6 separate regions of the Homo sapiens genome follow, and all the other regions are linked to region 1. Evidence: promoter capture Hi-C in 16 types of primary human blood cells and fetal thymus (Javierre and others, 2016). All regions are on one chromosome and are shown on one strand. The core of a region is centred on a gene start or on the middle of the fragment in contact, and the rest is flanking DNA. Distances in the headings are between cores, read along the strand shown. Region 1 holds the start of DERL1 (derlin 1). Region 2 overlaps NDUFB9 (NADH:ubiquinone oxidoreductase subunit B9). Region 3 overlaps RNF139 (ring finger protein 139). Region 4 overlaps RNF139-DT (RNF139 divergent transcript). Region 5 has its middle 4.2 kb from the start of TYW2. Region 6 has its middle 1.8 kb from the start of TMEM65.

The links. Contacts are between HindIII fragments. The CHiCAGO score rates a contact against its expected background, and 5 or more counts as called.
Region 2: a fragment that was not itself captured here is called in contact with the fragment with the promoter of DERL1 in region 1 in 2 of 17 cell types (neutrophils and monocytes); the score reaches 6.2 in neutrophils.
Region 3: a contact is called between a fragment that was not itself captured here and the fragment with the promoter of DERL1 in region 1, in 1 of 17 cell types (neutrophils). The highest score is 8.7, in neutrophils.
Region 4: a fragment that was not itself captured here is called in contact with the fragment with the promoter of DERL1 in region 1 in 2 of 17 cell types (neutrophils and naive B cells); the score reaches 6.7 in neutrophils.
Region 5: a fragment that was not itself captured here is called in contact with the fragment with the promoter of DERL1 in region 1 in 7 of 17 cell types (total B cells, monocytes, fetal thymus and 4 more); the score reaches 10.4 in total B cells.
Region 6: a contact is called between a fragment that was not itself captured here and the fragment with the promoter of DERL1 in region 1, in 1 of 17 cell types (total B cells). The highest score is 5.3, in total B cells.

The regions. Positions count from the first base shown.
Region 1 is chr8:123,040,991-123,043,605 of GRCh38, forward strand. It overlaps DERL1 (derlin 1), which reads right to left and starts at 1,312. Exons shown (of 8, transcript NM_024295.6): 1 at 980-1,312. The coding sequence starts at 1,132. RefSeq lists an enhancer at 722-1,261. The HindIII fragment of the contact is 6,787 bases long and covers 1-2,615 here.
Region 2 is chr8:124,540,518-124,543,132 of GRCh38, forward strand. It overlaps NDUFB9 (NADH:ubiquinone oxidoreductase subunit B9), which reads left to right. Exons shown (of 4, transcript NM_005005.3): 2 at 2,570-2,615. Among named protein-coding and RNA genes, the nearest start is that of NDUFB9, 2.7 kb to the left of the region's middle. The HindIII fragment of the contact is 4,221 bases long and covers 1-2,615 here.
Region 3 is chr8:124,478,807-124,481,421 of GRCh38, forward strand. All of the region lies in intron 1 of RNF139 (ring finger protein 139), which reads left to right. Among named protein-coding and RNA genes, the nearest start is that of RNF139, 5.2 kb to the left of the region's middle. The HindIII fragment of the contact is 4,337 bases long and covers 1-2,615 here.
Region 4 is chr8:124,462,478-124,465,092 of GRCh38, forward strand. It overlaps RNF139-DT (RNF139 divergent transcript), which reads right to left. Exons shown (of 2, transcript NR_108047.1): 2 at 16-2,615. Among named protein-coding and RNA genes, the nearest start is that of RNF139-DT, 11 kb to the right of the region's middle. The HindIII fragment of the contact is 1,028 bases long and covers 798-1,825 here.
Region 5 is chr8:124,445,301-124,447,915 of GRCh38, forward strand. No RefSeq gene overlaps it. Among named protein-coding and RNA genes, the nearest start is that of TYW2, 4.2 kb to the right of the region's middle. The HindIII fragment of the contact is 2,542 bases long and covers 46-2,587 here.
Region 6 is chr8:124,373,176-124,375,790 of GRCh38, forward strand. No RefSeq gene overlaps it. Among named protein-coding and RNA genes, the nearest start is that of TMEM65, 1.8 kb to the left of the region's middle. RefSeq lists an enhancer at 1-88. The HindIII fragment of the contact is 1,073 bases long and covers 801-1,873 here.

The DNA of each region.
Region 1 (2,615 bases), core at 62-2,561:
ATTTCAGAATCTCCAGTTTATAGAAAGTATGTAAAGCCCTGAGGCTGAATGAATGAGACCACCTAAAGCTAGGGAGAGTCTATAGAAAAGGTCCTATAACTGATTCCCAAGGCACATCCTAACATTTAAAAGTCAGGAAGATAAGGAACCAGCAAAGGAAACCAAGAAGTAACACCCAGTGAAGACAGGGAAAGACAAGAAAATGTTATCCATAGGCCAAGTAAAGGGCTGAAATTAATGCCAGATCTTGCTATCTGACCTGCCACTGATTGAAGTTTTAAATCAGAAATTGGTGAATACAGATAACCTTCAGAAAACTGGCACTCTCTTGACAGAAATGTTACTCTGGACTGTTTCCTTCATGCTTAAGAAAATAACAAGGCCTTCCATTTCTGGACAAATGTACTCTTTGCCCATTCCTTCGTACATTCTATTACTACGTGGGGGACACTAAATTAGGTCTAGAGGGAAATGCAGAACAATACACTCGTTCTTTGTATCTCTGACTTTAAATCACTCCTATAGGAAAACCAAAACAAAAAAACTCCATAAACGTGAAAGGAACTCAGCTATAAGTTGGTGAAGTTGACACCTACAGGCCACCCACGTGGGTGACAGAGGGAGGTCAGAGGGCAATGCTCCAGGCGGACCTAATCGCCAGCGTCCAACAGATTGACAACTACCAACGACTAATCTCACTGCTTCCTTCACTGAGTGCGAAGAGCGGGAAGCACAATCTCACTATACCAGTGAAGTCAACCCCTCCCCACCAGGCCAGCCCACAACTCCAGCTATCCAGCACCCCGCTCCAGATCCCAGAGCCTCCCCGGGCCCAAAGGACCCCGCCCTAAACCGCCGGCGCCGGACCCACTACAAATCCCAGCAGGCACCGCGCGCCCGCAACATGCCAGCCTACGCTTAGCCGCCGCTGGGCCTCCTGGGGCCTGTAGTCTCCACGCCCCCCGTCTCCGGTAAGTACCTGAAAGCGATAAAGGAAGGCTTCGGGCCAGAGGAAGAGGTAGGCCGGGCTGATGAGGCCGAGTTTGCCGACCAAGGGCACGGCGACGGTGGCGGCGAACCAATAGCGCGTGATCGCCGGGATGCTCCTGAACCAGTCTCCGATGTCCGACATCTTCGACCCACAGGTAGCCAAGATGCACAAGACCGCCCGACTCCCCGTGCCGACCCCCTCACGACGCGGCCGGCTCCGCGACTGTTAGGTGTCTAGGTGGAAGCCGCCGAAGCCGCGATGCAGAAGGCGGAGACGGGCGGACGTGGCGCCACCGAATTCGGACCAGCGAGGCAGCCTTCTGAGGCGAAACTTCCCCTTCCGGCGACCGCGGACGACGTGACCAGAAGTCCCGCCGCTTAAAGGGTAAGCGCCGATTTTACCGCCCGGCCGAGGCTCGGCGTCCTGGGGGGCGGAGCCAGGTAGAGCGACTACACGACTGGTGGGAAAACAGTGGTTGCCTGGATCAACGGCAAACGCTCCGGCCAGTGGCGAGGCCAAATGCCATTCACCTAGTTCTCAGAGTTTTAATGCGGCTGGGTCCACCTGGAGGGTATTTAAAGGGGACGAAGGCAAACGAAGTGTCTAGTTCCTCGTCTGCTTACTCATTCCACAAGTGTTTGTTGGGCACAGTTCTAGACACTGGGCAGCTGCGGCTGTCAGCGCTGTCGTGGTACCCTCTCTCCTGATCTTAACATCCTCATTGGGATAATTTATAAACAAATAGATAATGAAGTAAGATAATCTCAGAGAGTGATTAGAAAAATAGGAAAATGAAATGAGATGATGAGGTGGAGTGACGGGGTGGGGGTGCGGCAGTGTGAGGACAGATGGCTACCTTAGGTATGAACTGGGCCAGCCAGGCAAGAGATCTGGGGGAAGAATTTTCCATGCACAGAGAAAAGCCGCTCTAACTAGGTTGGAATGTTGGAGGAACTAAAAGCCAAAATGATCCATCTTGTCTAATTCAACTTGTATAAGAAGGAATCTTTAAGAAAAGATACTGGCCAGGCGCGGTGGCTCACGCCTGTAATCCCAGCACTTTGGGAGGCCGAGGCGGGCGGATCACGAGGTCAGGAGTTCGAGACCAGCCTGGCCAACATGATGAAACCCCGTCTCTACTAAAAATACAAAAATTAGCCGGGCATGGTGGAGGGCGCCTGTAGTCCCAGCTACTTGGGAGGCTGAGGCAGGAGAATCGCTTGAACCCGGGAGGTGGAGGTTACAGCGAGCCGAGATTGCACCATTGCACTCCAGCCTGGGGGACAAGAGCCAGACTCCATCTCAAAAAAAAGAAAAAAAGAAAAGATACTGAGTAGAGTTTCCCGTTGTTTTGGGATTTGGGGCCAGCAGTTTAAGATTGCTAAAGTCTTCCAATAAAGAGCACCAGGAACAAACCTGTAGTCAACAAAGTTAGATTTATTAACTTGCTGCAGCAAGGGAGACTGCACTCCAGAGGAACCTCAATGCCTCTCATCAAACGGAAGTGTCATTATTGGGTTATGGGAATGGGGGGATTTTTTGGTAAGAATTAACTGGAGCAGTGTTTGATAGACTCGAAGCAAAGCAGAGCTGTGTGCAGCATCAGGTTAACATCAGACCTGAG
Region 2 (2,615 bases), core at 60-2,559, 1.5 Mb after region 1:
ATTAAAATATCACATGTACCCCATAAATAGGTACAATAATTATGTGTCAAAAAAAGTTAAACATGAAAAAAAGAATTCAAGCAATACTGAACTATAGCTGGGAATACTAAAGTCCATAGTTCTAGAGGAAAATGATATAAACTAGCTACTATGACAGTTATGGCTCAGCATTTTTTAGATCTGACATTCTTTCTCAATCCTTGCCTTAATTTCTTCCTCCATTTGCCCTCATTGTGCTGTTCTCTGTGGTTCCATCCTAGGCATACTGTGTTGTTGTATGTACTCGGGCAGCCTCATTTAGTGCTGTCACCACCTGCGCTCATTTGTCTCTAGAGCTGTAGTTCGAATTGCTTGTTAGATCACGACTGTTGGCTGGGCATGATGGCTCACGCCTATAATCCCAGTACTTTGGGAGGCTGAGGTGAGTGGATCACCTGAGGCCAGGAGTTCAACAGCCTGGCCTACATGTGAAACCGCGTCTCTACTAAAAATACAAAAATTAGCCAGGCGTGGTGGTGGGTGCCTGTAATCCCAGCTACTCATGAGGCTGAGGCAGAAGAACCGCTTGAACCTGGGAGGCAGAGGCTGCAGTGAGCCGAGATAGCCCCATTGCACTCCAGCCTGGGCGACAAGAGTGAAACTTTGTCTCAAAAAATAATAATAAAAAAAAAATTGAAAAGATCACCAACCGTTCTCTCAATCTCCATTTATCTAAATTCTTTGAAATCAAACTTGTTTTCCTGTCACTCCCCATTCTGACTCTTTTCCCAAATTCCCTGCCTCCGCTAATGGTATTATTAGTAATTCAGTTACTGAGCTTTAAGTCTCAGAATTGTTCTCAAGTATTTGCTCCTTATTCCTTTGCCAATAACACACATACTCATACACCATGTATAATTAGACACTGGTTTTTATAAATTCTCTTTCCAGTATGATATTAGTAACTGACATTATTTAACACTTGGGATGTACCAGGCACTTTTTAAAGTGTGTTTATCTTATTGACTGTTTATGACAACCTTAAGATATACACACTGTTATTGCCACTGTTTTACAGAGGAGGAACCCGTGGCCTAGAAGACTTTTTTTGTTTGTTTTTTTGTTAGACGGAGTTTCGCTTATGTTGCCCAGGCTGGAGTGCAGTGGCGCGATCTTGGCTCACCGCAAGTTCCGTCTCCCGGGTTCAAGCAATTCTCCTGCCTCAGTCTCCCGAGTAGCTGGGATTACAGGCATGCGCCACCACGCCTGGCTAATTTTTGTATTTTTAGTAGAGACGGGGTTTTGCCATGTTGGCCAGGCTGGTCTTGAACTCCTGACCTCAGGTGACCTCCACCTCAGCCTCCCAAAGTGCTGGGATTACAGGCGTGAGCCACCGTGCCTGGCCTTTTTGTTGTTGTTGTTGTTGTTTTTTTTTGAGATGAAGTCTCGCTCTTGTCCCCCAGGCTGGAGTGCAAATGGCACAATCTCGACTCACTGCAACCTCTGCCTCCCGGGTTCAAGCTATTCTCCTGCCTTGGCCCCCAGAGTAGCTGGGATTACAGGTGCCTGCCACCACGCCCGGCTAGTTTTTGTATTTTTAGCTGAGACGGGATTTCACCATGTTGGCCAGGCTGGTGTAGAACTCCTCACCTCAGATGATCCCCCTGCCTTGGCCTCCCAAAGTGCTGGGATTACAGGCGTGAGCCACCATGCCCGGCCTCATTTTTGTATTTTTAGTAGAGACGGGGTTTCTCCATGTTGATCAGGCTTGTCTTGAACTCCAGACCTCAGGTGATCCACACGCCTTGGCCTCCCAACGTGCTGGGATTACAGGTGTGAGCCACCGCACCTGACCAGAAGACAGTAACTTACCCCAAGTTACACAGCTAGTAGTGGCAGAGCTAAGATTCAGGCCCATACAGTCTGACTGGAGAGCCTATTCTCATAACTTGGAAGTCTCAATGTCTCCCCTGTCTCCTGTCACCATCACAGCTCCGTACTTTCAGGCCCTCGTCAGCTGTGTCCTAGATTATTGTCAAAACCTCCTAACTGATCTTTGCCCAGTTTCTTTAGAACTTGACTTTAACTTGCCTAAGTTTATGCAGCTAGTGTCAGAGTCAGGATACAAACCTAGCTCTGTATGAGCTAAGCAATACTGTTTCTGCCAAGTAACACCTTTCTTATTCATCTTTGTATCTCCAGAATTTAGCATAGTGACTAGCACAAGATAGAAGGAAATGGAAGTTGTCATTCAATGAATGTTGAATGATCCTGCAGAGGTTATAGCTTTTCTCTTGCGAATGCTCTTTTCTTTTTTTTTTTTTTTTTTTTTGTTTAAATCCTCATTCCATTGTTGGATGTAAGAGGAGAAAAATGGTTAGGGTATATATTTAATACAGTATTTTTTTGCTGCTGCTGTTTGGTGGGCTGTAGAGGAAGCAGCCATGATGATACGGCTGCTCCATTGGGAGGGTTGGGGTAGGTCCACTGCCCATCCAGAAGGTATCAGAAGTGCAGCCTCCTGTCAGACAGCAACACTGACCACGTGAGTAGGTAACATTTCTAATCTTCAAAATCATTTTGGTTTAAGAGACAAATACCGATACTTTGCTTGTTTGATGAGAGCCCGGTTTGAA
Region 3 (2,615 bases), core at 59-2,558, 1.4 Mb after region 1:
CCTCCCAGGTTCGGGCGATTCTCCGGCCTCAGCCTCCCGAGTAGCTAGGATGATTACAGGCAAGCGCCACCACCCCCGGCAAATTTTTTTCTATTTTTAGTAGAGACAGGTTTTCTCCATGTTGGTCAGGCTGTTCTCCAACTCCCGACCTCAGGTGATCTGCCCACATCGTCCTCCCAGAGTGCTGGGATTACAGGCGTGAGCCACCGTGCCTGGCCCGGAAGACTCTTAATTTCAGTGTAAAACCATTTGGCAGTATCAACTGTCATTTACAACTGACTTCTCAGTGTTTTGTTTTGTTTTTGAGACAGTCTCACTCTGTCACCAAGGCTGGAGTGCAGTGGCGTGATCTCAGCACACTGCAACCTCCACCTCCCAGGTTCAAGCGATTCTCCTGCCTCAGCCTCCCAAGTAGCTGGGATGCCTGGCTCGTACAACTTTTGACTCACAATTTCAATTCTAGGGAATTGGCCTAGAGAGATAGTTTGCTTAAGGACTATGGGCAAGCATTACTGGAAATAACAAAGCAACAAACTTAATCTAAATATGTATTGATACAAATCTGTTCATTGTATTAGGTCTAGCCATGCAATAAAGTTCTTGAAAGAAATGAGATAGCTATTTTTGGTGCCGAAAAAGACTTCAGAAAACCTCTGAAGTGAAAAAACAAAGCCGAAGTAATTATCACTGGCAGAGGAATAGACAGAGATTTCTCAACAGTGGCAGTATTGACATTTTGGACAGGATAATTCTTTGTTTGCGGATGGGAGCTCTCCTGTGCACTGTAAGATTTTTAGCAGCATCACTATCCCCTGCCCATTAGATGCCAGTAGCACCTTGCACCCCCACACCCCAGTGTGACAGCCAAAACTGTCCCTGGATATTGCCAAATCATGGTTGAGAACCATTGGGATAGACAAATAGATTAGTACTTAGCCTTATTTATAATTACATAGCCCAGAAACAGACACCAATGTATATATAGAAATAATGTGTTTCAGAGATAGAATTGAAGTACATTGAGGTAAATATGGACTGTTGAATTAATGATCATTTTGTTACACCTTTGGAAATAAATTATACTAGATGTCTACCTTATGTCAATATATAGACAGTCACTTCTAGGTTGAGCAGTGTAGTGAGACCCTGTCTCTGCAAAAATAAATATTTAAAATAATAGCCATACTTGGTGGTGGGTGCCTGTAGTCCTATCTTACTCAGGAGGCTGGGGTGAGAAGATCGCTTGGGCCTAGGAGTTCAAGGCTGCAAGTGAGCTATGATTGCATAACTGCACTCCAGCCTGGCTGGGTGACAGAGCAAGACCCTGTCTCTTAAAAAAAAAAAATAGTCATTTCTAAGTGTATTCTTACCTAGATGTATATGTAAATATGAAATGCAGAACTTTAAATTTTTAGAAAAAAATATGGAATATTTTATTTTTCCAATCTTAGATTAAGGAAGAAATCCTTAAAAATATATAAAAGCAAATACATAATGAAGATTGATAAACCGAATGATATTGAGGTTAAAAACCTATGTTAATCAAAAGATCGCACCACTGCACTCCAGCCTGGGCAACAGAGCGAGACTCCATCACTAAAAAAAAAAAAAAAAAAAAAAGGAAGTCAAATCTTGGGTAAGGGGGAACTACTGTACTTACATTTACCCATTTATTATAAAGGCAATTACAAAGGACACAGATGAATTAACCCGATGGAAGGAGATGTACAAGGTGAGACAAAGAAGGAGAGAAGAGGAGAAGGGGCGTGGAGCTTCAGTGTTCAGCTATCTGAGAGCTCACAGAACTCAGTCCTTTTGGGCTTCTATGGAAGTTCATTAAATAGGCAAGATTGATTAGATCACTAGTCATTGGTTTATGGACTCAAGTTTCAGCTTCTTTCTTCCCAGAAGTGGCGGCTGGGGGTAGGAATCAAAGTTATAACCCTTAATCACTGGGCTGATTCCCCTGGCTACCTAGCCCCCATCCTGAAGCTATCTAGGGGCCCCCAGGCACCAGTCATCTGATTATTGTACAAAACAGTCATCACTCCAGAGATTCCAAGGATTTTAGAAGCTATGTCAGAAAATGGGACAAAGACCAAATATTAATATTTTTTTTATGATATCACAGATGGGAAAGACAAACTAGAAAAACTTGCTTTAACTCTTCATTTAACACCTCTCTGTAGGGTTTGGCTTTTTAAAATCCATGTTCATATATTTTTGATAAAAGCATACTTATTATAAGTTTAGTTTAAAAGCAAAAGTTTAATTTTGTGTTAATACTTAGAATACCAGGTTTTTTTTCAACCTAAAATGAGAATCCAATAGAAATGTTTTCTTTATAATTTATCAAGTATACCAACAGATTAACAACATTTCAAGACACTTTGTTGTAAACTTCATTGCGGAAGGCTCCCTTGGGAGTAAGGTAGTAGTAACATTTATTTCTGTGCTTTTCCATATTTATTCTGTCAGGTATTGAAATGTTTTTCCACAGGTTGCTTTTTGTTTTAGAGGTATTTCGGGTACTTGGAGAATTGTAAATATTATGTTTTGTACCCTGATTTTTAGTCATAAGTTTCCAAAAGAGGGTAAGGGTATGAATAGACTTT
Region 4 (2,615 bases), core at 62-2,561, 1.4 Mb after region 1:
TGTCTCATTTTATTCTTTTTTCTCTCTGTTTCAGGGAGGTTCTACTGCTGCATCTTCAAGTTCACTGATCTTTCTTTCTGCAATATCTAATCTGCCATTAATCTCATCTAACATATTTTTCATCTCAGACATTGGAGTTTTCATCTCTAGAAGTTTGATACGGGTCTTTTTATACCTTCATTGTCTGTAATATCTTCAGTCTTTCCTCTGGTTTCTTGAATACATGGAATATAATTATAATAACTGTTTTAATGTCCTTGTCTAATAATCTTCATCATCTGTAATTTCTGAGTCAGTTTTGACAGAATGTTTTATTTTTTGTTTGTTTTGAGATGGAGTCTTGCTCTGTTGCCCAGGCTGGAGTGCATTGGCACAATCTCACTGCAACCTCTGCCTCCTGGGTTCAAGCAATTCTCCTGCCTTAGCCTCCTGAATAGCTGGGACTACAGGTGAGCACCACCACTCCCTGCTAATTTTTGTATTTTTAGTAGAGACGGGGTTTCGCCATGTTGGCCAGGCTGGTCTTGAACTCCTGACCTCAGGTCATCCACCTACCTTGGCCTCCCAAAGTGCTGGGATTACAGGTGTGAGCCACTGCACCTAGCCCAGAATGTTTTATTTTTCTTATTATGGGTTGTATTTTTCTGTTGCATGCCTGGTAATTTTTGATTGGATGCCAGCCATTGTGAATTTTACTTTGTAGATTATTTTCATATCCCTAAAACAGTTTGAACTTTCTTCTGGAGTATGATTAAGTTATTTGGACACAGTTTGAATGTTTTTGGGTCTCTCTTTTAAGCTTTGTTAGGTTATTCTAGAGCATTTAGTCGAGGGTTAATTTTTCCCGCTATTGAAGCAAGACCTTTCTTAGTACTCTAACTGGTGCCTTGTGAATTAGGATCTTTTCCACTCTTGCTGACGGGATCAGGAATCATTCACCATCCTGTGTGAGCTTTGAGTATTGTTTTCTTTAATCCTTTCTGATGGTTCTTTGCCAAGCCTTTGGTTATTTCCTCTCATGCATGTACTAATCATTATTTAGCTTAATACTTCAGGAGAATGGTCAGCAGATCTCTGGAGTTCTCTCTGTGTCACTCTGTCCTCTCTAGTATTCTACCCTGTGAACTCTAGTTGCCTTGGGCTCTCAGGACTCCCACTTATATCTCCTCACCTCACAGAGTCTTCTGGGTTCCCTCTCCCCATGCCAAAGCCTTTCTTCAGGCAGCAAGTTGGAGCAATTGTATTGCTCACCTTGTTTGCATTCCATCTCTCATGGATTACTATCCTTCACTGCCTATGTCCAATGCCTTCAGGGCCATTGTTTCATATATTTTGCCCATTTAAAAAAAGTATTTGGAAGTTTATAATTACTTTCTACTTAAATTTACTAGCTGTCACAATCATTACTGAAGAAATTCACTCTTGCAATAATATACATATGTACTTCATTTGACACAGAATTTCAACATGTAAAGCATATAAGAATTTCTTGCCACAATCATGTTTAGAATGCTTACCTATAAGGTGAATATTAAAATATTAGTAAATACAATGACTTTTTTCAGATTAGACATGATAAATAACCTGCAAGGTTACTTGACCATTGGTCACACAGAATTTCAGAGAGATCAGAACCAGTGTCAAAATAGGTATTTGTCTTTTTGGCTTTTTAAAGGTCAAGGTTGAATCAAGGGTAAACGAAAATATTGCATGAACATGAAGCTAAAATTGAATTTTATGTAACACAACAACAGCACTGGGTAAATAGAGATAGGTGGATAGACTGTCTCAGTTTCTTTTTAATAATTTTTATTTTTTTAATCGAAGCTTTACACATAATTTAAAAACTCAAAGGTAACAAAACCTAATATGAAAAAAGCCCACCATGATGAAGCAGCTGTTCTGCAGGTGTTTTGCCCTCATTCTGTGTGTCTACTTTCAATTCCAAATGGGCTTATATGACCAAAGAGATGCAGGATCTAACCAACATGTACCAACAGGAACCATGAGCATGTGTATGGAACTGGGTCCTGAGAGTGCTGGACAAGAATTAAGTTTGTGTTTATATAGGACAGCAGTACCCATTTATAGTATTGGCTTAGGGTTATGTTAACTCTTCCACACTGCGTCATAATCCGAAGAGATCTAGACCATCTAAACATCCCACATAATGTCACAATGACCTACCACATTGATGACATCATGCTAGCTGGATAAGGTGAATAATAAGCAGCTAGCATACTGTACACTGGAGGATGGGAAATAATCCTTAAGACCCAGCAAGCTGTTACCTCAGTGAAACTTTTAGGGCCCAGTAGGCTGCTTGAATGCCAAGATATCCCCTTCACAGTAAAGGACAAATTATTGCATCTCACCCACTCATTTCACCAAAATTATTCTGCCACCAGGGAAGCACACCAAGCTGTGTAGGCTTCTGTGGGAATTCAGAAGTTGGCAGTACTGTTCTGACTCGTAAACTGGGTGAGATAGAAATCTGCCAGTTTTCAGTGGGATCCATAGCATGTAAAAGTTCTCTAGCAGGTATGGTGTATTTAGCCCTGTTGCATGGACCAATTCAGGATATTCTATGGGACAAGAGTAAATGTGATAAGAAG
Region 5 (2,615 bases), core at 67-2,566, 1.4 Mb after region 1:
TGAAAATTTAGAAACCTTGATTGACTTTTCAGGCCAGATAGGAAAAGCTTCAATCCAACATGTAAAGAAAGGTATCAACCAACACTGATAAATATTGGAATCCTTTACATGGGGGCATTTGGGTATAGTGTGTTTGCCAATCTTCTTCTGGGTACGACCCCCTATGCTGAACAGGCTTTACTAATGGAGGAGGTAAAGTTTGGTTGTTTGAGGTTTTTTTGGGCACACAATTCACAGGCCCAAGTCACTTGTTTTACTGTTCTAAGAAAGTCTTTTCGGCCAGGCACGGTGGCTCACGCCTGTAATCCCAGCACTTTGGGAGGCTGAGGTGGGTGGATCACGAGGTCAGGAGTTCAAGACCAGCCTGGCCAACATGGTGAAACCCTGTCTTTACTAAAAATACAAAAATTAGCTGGGCATGGTGGCAGATGCCTGCAATCCCAGCTACTCGGGAGGCTGAGGCAGAGAATTGCTTGAACCCAGGAGGCAGAGGTTGCAGTGAGCTGAGATCACACCACTGCACTCCAGCCTGGGTGACAGAGCGAGACTCCGTCTCAAAAAAAAAAAGAAAGTCTTTCCCTATAAACAGATGAGCCATATTAATTGAAATGAGAAATCTCTTCCCAAATGAGTAGAGCCATGCCAATACTTAACTATTTTCCATTGATCAGCTCTTGGTACATATCATCTGTCATTTTCATCAATTAGCCATCTGGAAGTGCTTATAGTTAACCCATGGGTCTTAGCCCATTTTTGTTCTTTTCTAGTATTAACCATGCTCTAGTTTTATCGTCACCAAGGCAGTGGGCACCAACATGCCTACCAGATTAACTGGTTCCCTCAAATGAAGCTGCCTCAGCTGTAGCATCTGCAAAAGAATGCCCTTTTATTATTTTGGAGTTTTCTTTCTTTCTTTTCTTTTCTTTTTTTTCTTTTTTTTTTTTTTTTTGAGTCAGAGCCTTGCTCAAGTTGCCCAGGCTGGAGTGCAATGGCACGATCTCAGGCTCACTGCAACCTCTGCTGCCCAGGTTCAAGCAATTCTCCTGCCTTAGCCTCCCAGGTAGCTGGGATTACAGGCACGAGCCACCACGCCCAACTAATTTTTGTATTTTTAGTAGAGATGGGGTTTCACCCTGTTGGCAAGCCTGGTCTCGAACTCCTGACCTCATGATCCGCCCGCCTTAGCCCCTCAAAGTGCTGGGATTACAGGTGTGAGCCACAGTGCCTGGCATATTTTGGAGTTTTCTTTTTGATGTCCCTTGCAGTGAATCACAGCAACTTCCTTAGGCAGCAAGGAAGCATCTAGTAGATTTAAAATTCCCAAATAATGTTCTATAGGGGAGCCCTTAGAAGTTAAAGAGTCCCCATTATTTCCAAATAGCAGCATGAGCATGAAGCACCAGAAAGCCATACTTGGAGTTTGTGTACATGTTAATTCTTTTTTAAAATTATTATCCTTTTTTGAGACAGAGTCTCGCTCTGTCTCTAGCCTGGAGTGCAGTGGCATGACCTTGGCTTACTGCAAGCTCTGCCTCCTGGGTTCAAGTGATTCTCCTCCCTCAGCCTCCTGAGTAATTGGGACTACAGGTGTGCACCACCACGCCCAGGTAATTTTTGTATTTTTAGTACAAATGGGGTTTCACCATGTTGGCCAGGCTGTTCTGGAACTCCTGACCTCAAGTAATCCGCCTGCCTCAGCCTCCCAAAGTACTGGGATTACAGGTGTGAGCCACCACACCCAGCCCTAGTGGCCCGTCTTTTAAATCCTGCCAGCTGGAATAAATTTGTTCCATAGCTTGTGTACATGAATGATCTAGGGTGCCTTTGGATCCAAGTAGATACGTAGCTAGGATTAAGGTCTTCTGTTATACTTTAAGAGTTATATCAAGAGTATCTAGCAATAAAGCCTGATAATTTAATAACTATCCCCTACTCATCTATTGGTGCCCTTTAGCTTCTAGGGCCTCTGTTATTTGGTGTGGGGTCAAAACCTCCAGATGTTGTCCCAAAGTTAATTTATTGTCTTCATCTATGAGAAGAGCAGTTGTTGCAACTGCCCTGAAACATCTGAGTCATCCTGAAGCCACATGGTCAATTGGTTAGAAAAATATGCCATGGGTCAAGGGATGTATCCCTGTTTCTAGACAAGAACATTTAGGGCTGTCCCTTGTTTCTCAGCCACATAAAGGAAGAAAGTAAAGCCTGTCCCTAAACCCACGGGGAAGAATTGTCCAAGTTAACACAGAAACCAAAAGATTATTAGGTAATCAAAAGTAAAGACCACAATAGGGGACTCAGCAAAAGAAATGTTTCACTAGAGAAGGGAAATGACAAAGTTCTAGAAAGGAATGTCCAAGTTCAGGCCAGTAGCGGCAAGCAGGACAAGATTTACATGGCCTTGCCATTTGTAACCAAAAAGTAAAAGTCATTCCATTAGCAAGGAGATGAAAAAGAACTGCTGAAAAGCAATCTCCAGTTTTCCATCCTGGAGCAGTTCACCTAGGGGGGACTGGTATAATTGCTGCCAGGCTTAATCTTTCACATTGGACCTTTTCATTTAAAACTTGTAAATGCGAAATTCCAAGTAAGCTTTGCAAAAAAGGAGAGACAATAAA
Region 6 (2,615 bases), core at 87-2,586, 1.3 Mb after region 1:
GGGCGCCCCAAAGAGAAAGCGAAGCCAGTTCCACCCCTGCCCAAGGAGGGTCTGAGACTGAGCCCTTGACACGAGAACAGTCCTCCCCGTTCAGATTCCAGCAGCTGGCATGCAAATTGTTAATGCTAGAGGCAGAGGCAAGAATGTCATAGACCTTTCCTAGTGGTTGCTTGTGATTTTTTTGTCTCTGTGCTAAAGCGGGAAGAATAATTTGATTGTCCACGATTTCCCCTGATCCAGGTCCTAGGCATCTTTCAAGGCCCAGGTGAAAGGTCTCCTACTTCATTAAGCTGTCCCTAATCTCTTCTAAGGGAGGAGATCTCTGCTTTATCTGAACCTGTCTAATGACGCTTAGGCACCCTTAGAGAATAAATCCACTTAATAAATCTGCTGGAGCGTAATCAAGATCTAAATCCCATCCTTATCATAAACAGTGCTGCACTCAGCCCGGAAACTTGTAGGTAGTAAATGTGCTACATGTAAGTAGAATATTAAACTGAATAATGGAGGATTGTTACCACTAAAGCCTCCTACTTCTCTAACTCTGGTTCTCAAAGTGTGTCCCAGAGCTTTTTAGACGTGAGAAATAGTGGACCCCACTTCACACCTCCTGAATCAGAACGTAGACATTGGACCCAGTCATGTGGGTTTTAACAAGCCCTCCAGTAATAACACACACGAAAGCTTGAGAAACACTGATGTCTCTTAAACATTGAAAGGAATCGCTTCTTTTTTAAATTCCAAGGTGATGCCTCTGTGATGTAATAACAACAATTAAGAATGCTCTCTGTGGAAATGAAAGCTTTTTGAGTGCATAAAGTATATCTTCCTTGTCTTTGAAACCCCCTTCATTCCCTAGTGTGCACTGGAATCCTCTGCAGAGCTATTTCAGTCTCAGGCTCATGGGAGTACCACCCCATCCCCCCCACAATTTCCTACCCCCAAGATATTCTGATTCACTGGGGTGGATCACAGGCCCCAGACCTGGGAAGTGAGGTTTGAAAAAAGTTCTTCAGTAAGAACCCATTCCCAACCACCTCCAGAATAGTAGTTTAGTGTGTAGCCTCCAGAGACAGACTGTGGAAAGTTCGATCCCTGGATCAACCGTCTCCTAACTATGTGTTAGTATTAGATTGTTATAGTAGTGATCCCCAATGAACTACACCTTCTATTATCCGCTCCGTTGTGTGGTCCACCTCTACATTGACTGTGGGCTTGGCTATTTGACTTGTTTTGGTCAATAAATAGGAGGACATCATAAACGTGATATGATACATGTTTGCTCATTGGGGTTTGCTGTAATGCTTTTGCTATATTACTATAGAATATTTAATTCTATTATAAAACAAGAGAAACTAAAATGTAGAAGCAAGTCACTTATGAGAAAGGTTACACATAGAATGAATGGATATGGGTTGAACATAGATAAAAAGGATGGAACAAATGAAAATGCTGCTTTAGATAGAGGCAGAAAGACAAAGTGGACTTTTAAGTATTAATAAGGTACAGATCATACTATCTTCAGATTTACAGCCATGTCATCCCTAAATTGCATACCTACTGGTAACACCCATTGTAACGCTATTATGGCCTCATGTAATCTCTTCCCAAGAAAAGCAGATAAACCCCCAGCTACAAAGCCAACTAATGCCAGCTACCATTATAACCAGACACACTTGCCCCTCAGCTCTGTAACAGAACAGACATATGTTGAGCCCAGGCCCCTTCAGTCTGTTGAGTCACCTTACTTACTCTCCAGTCTGGTCCTTGTAGCCACACTATGTGCTGAGAAGACTGGATGGTGGAGAGGGATAAGACATGAGAACATTGCATAAAACAGAATTTAGGTGCTATGGTCCTTCAGCCTATCCTAAGCTTATTAATCTACCCTATCTCTTTCCCCTTGCTTCTCACTCTGTTTTATGTTGGTTGGTAAACTCTTCTGGTTATTATTGCTGCTCTTTGGGTAGACACATTATGCCAAAACTTAGTAGTTTAATTAGCCAATTTATTTTGCTCTTAATTTTGAGGCTCAGAAATTGGGGAAGAACTTACTTGGACAGTTATTTTATTGGAGTCGTTTATGTAGTATCAATCAGATTTCAACACAACTGCTGTCATTTGAAAGTTCAGCTGGGCTGAATAGCTAAGATGGCTCACTGACATGGCTGACTGGTAGCTCAAATGGGGCTGAGAACCAGAGCACTTTCACACAGCCACTCCAGCATGGTGATCTTCTCACCAGACAGCTGGCTTTCCCCAGAGTGAATGTCTAAAAAGAAGCAGGCTTGTGGCGTTTTCTGACCTATCCTTGGAAGTCACACAGTATCACTTCCACTGTATTCTACTGGCTATAAGCCAACCCCTAGGGCCAGCCCCTATTCAAGGGAAAGGGATATAAACCCCACATCTTAATAGGAGTAATGCCAAAACCTTTGAGGATACGTTTTAGAACCACCAGATAATGTGATTTAAGCTTCTTAATTTGGCCTATAAGCCTATCTATTTCGTGACCTGTAGGTGTATACATGGAGGCTGCCATTGCATCAAGGTAATTTTCCACATGGAAAAATTGCCTCGAAGACATTTACCTTTTGGAATCCAGCTGCTGCATA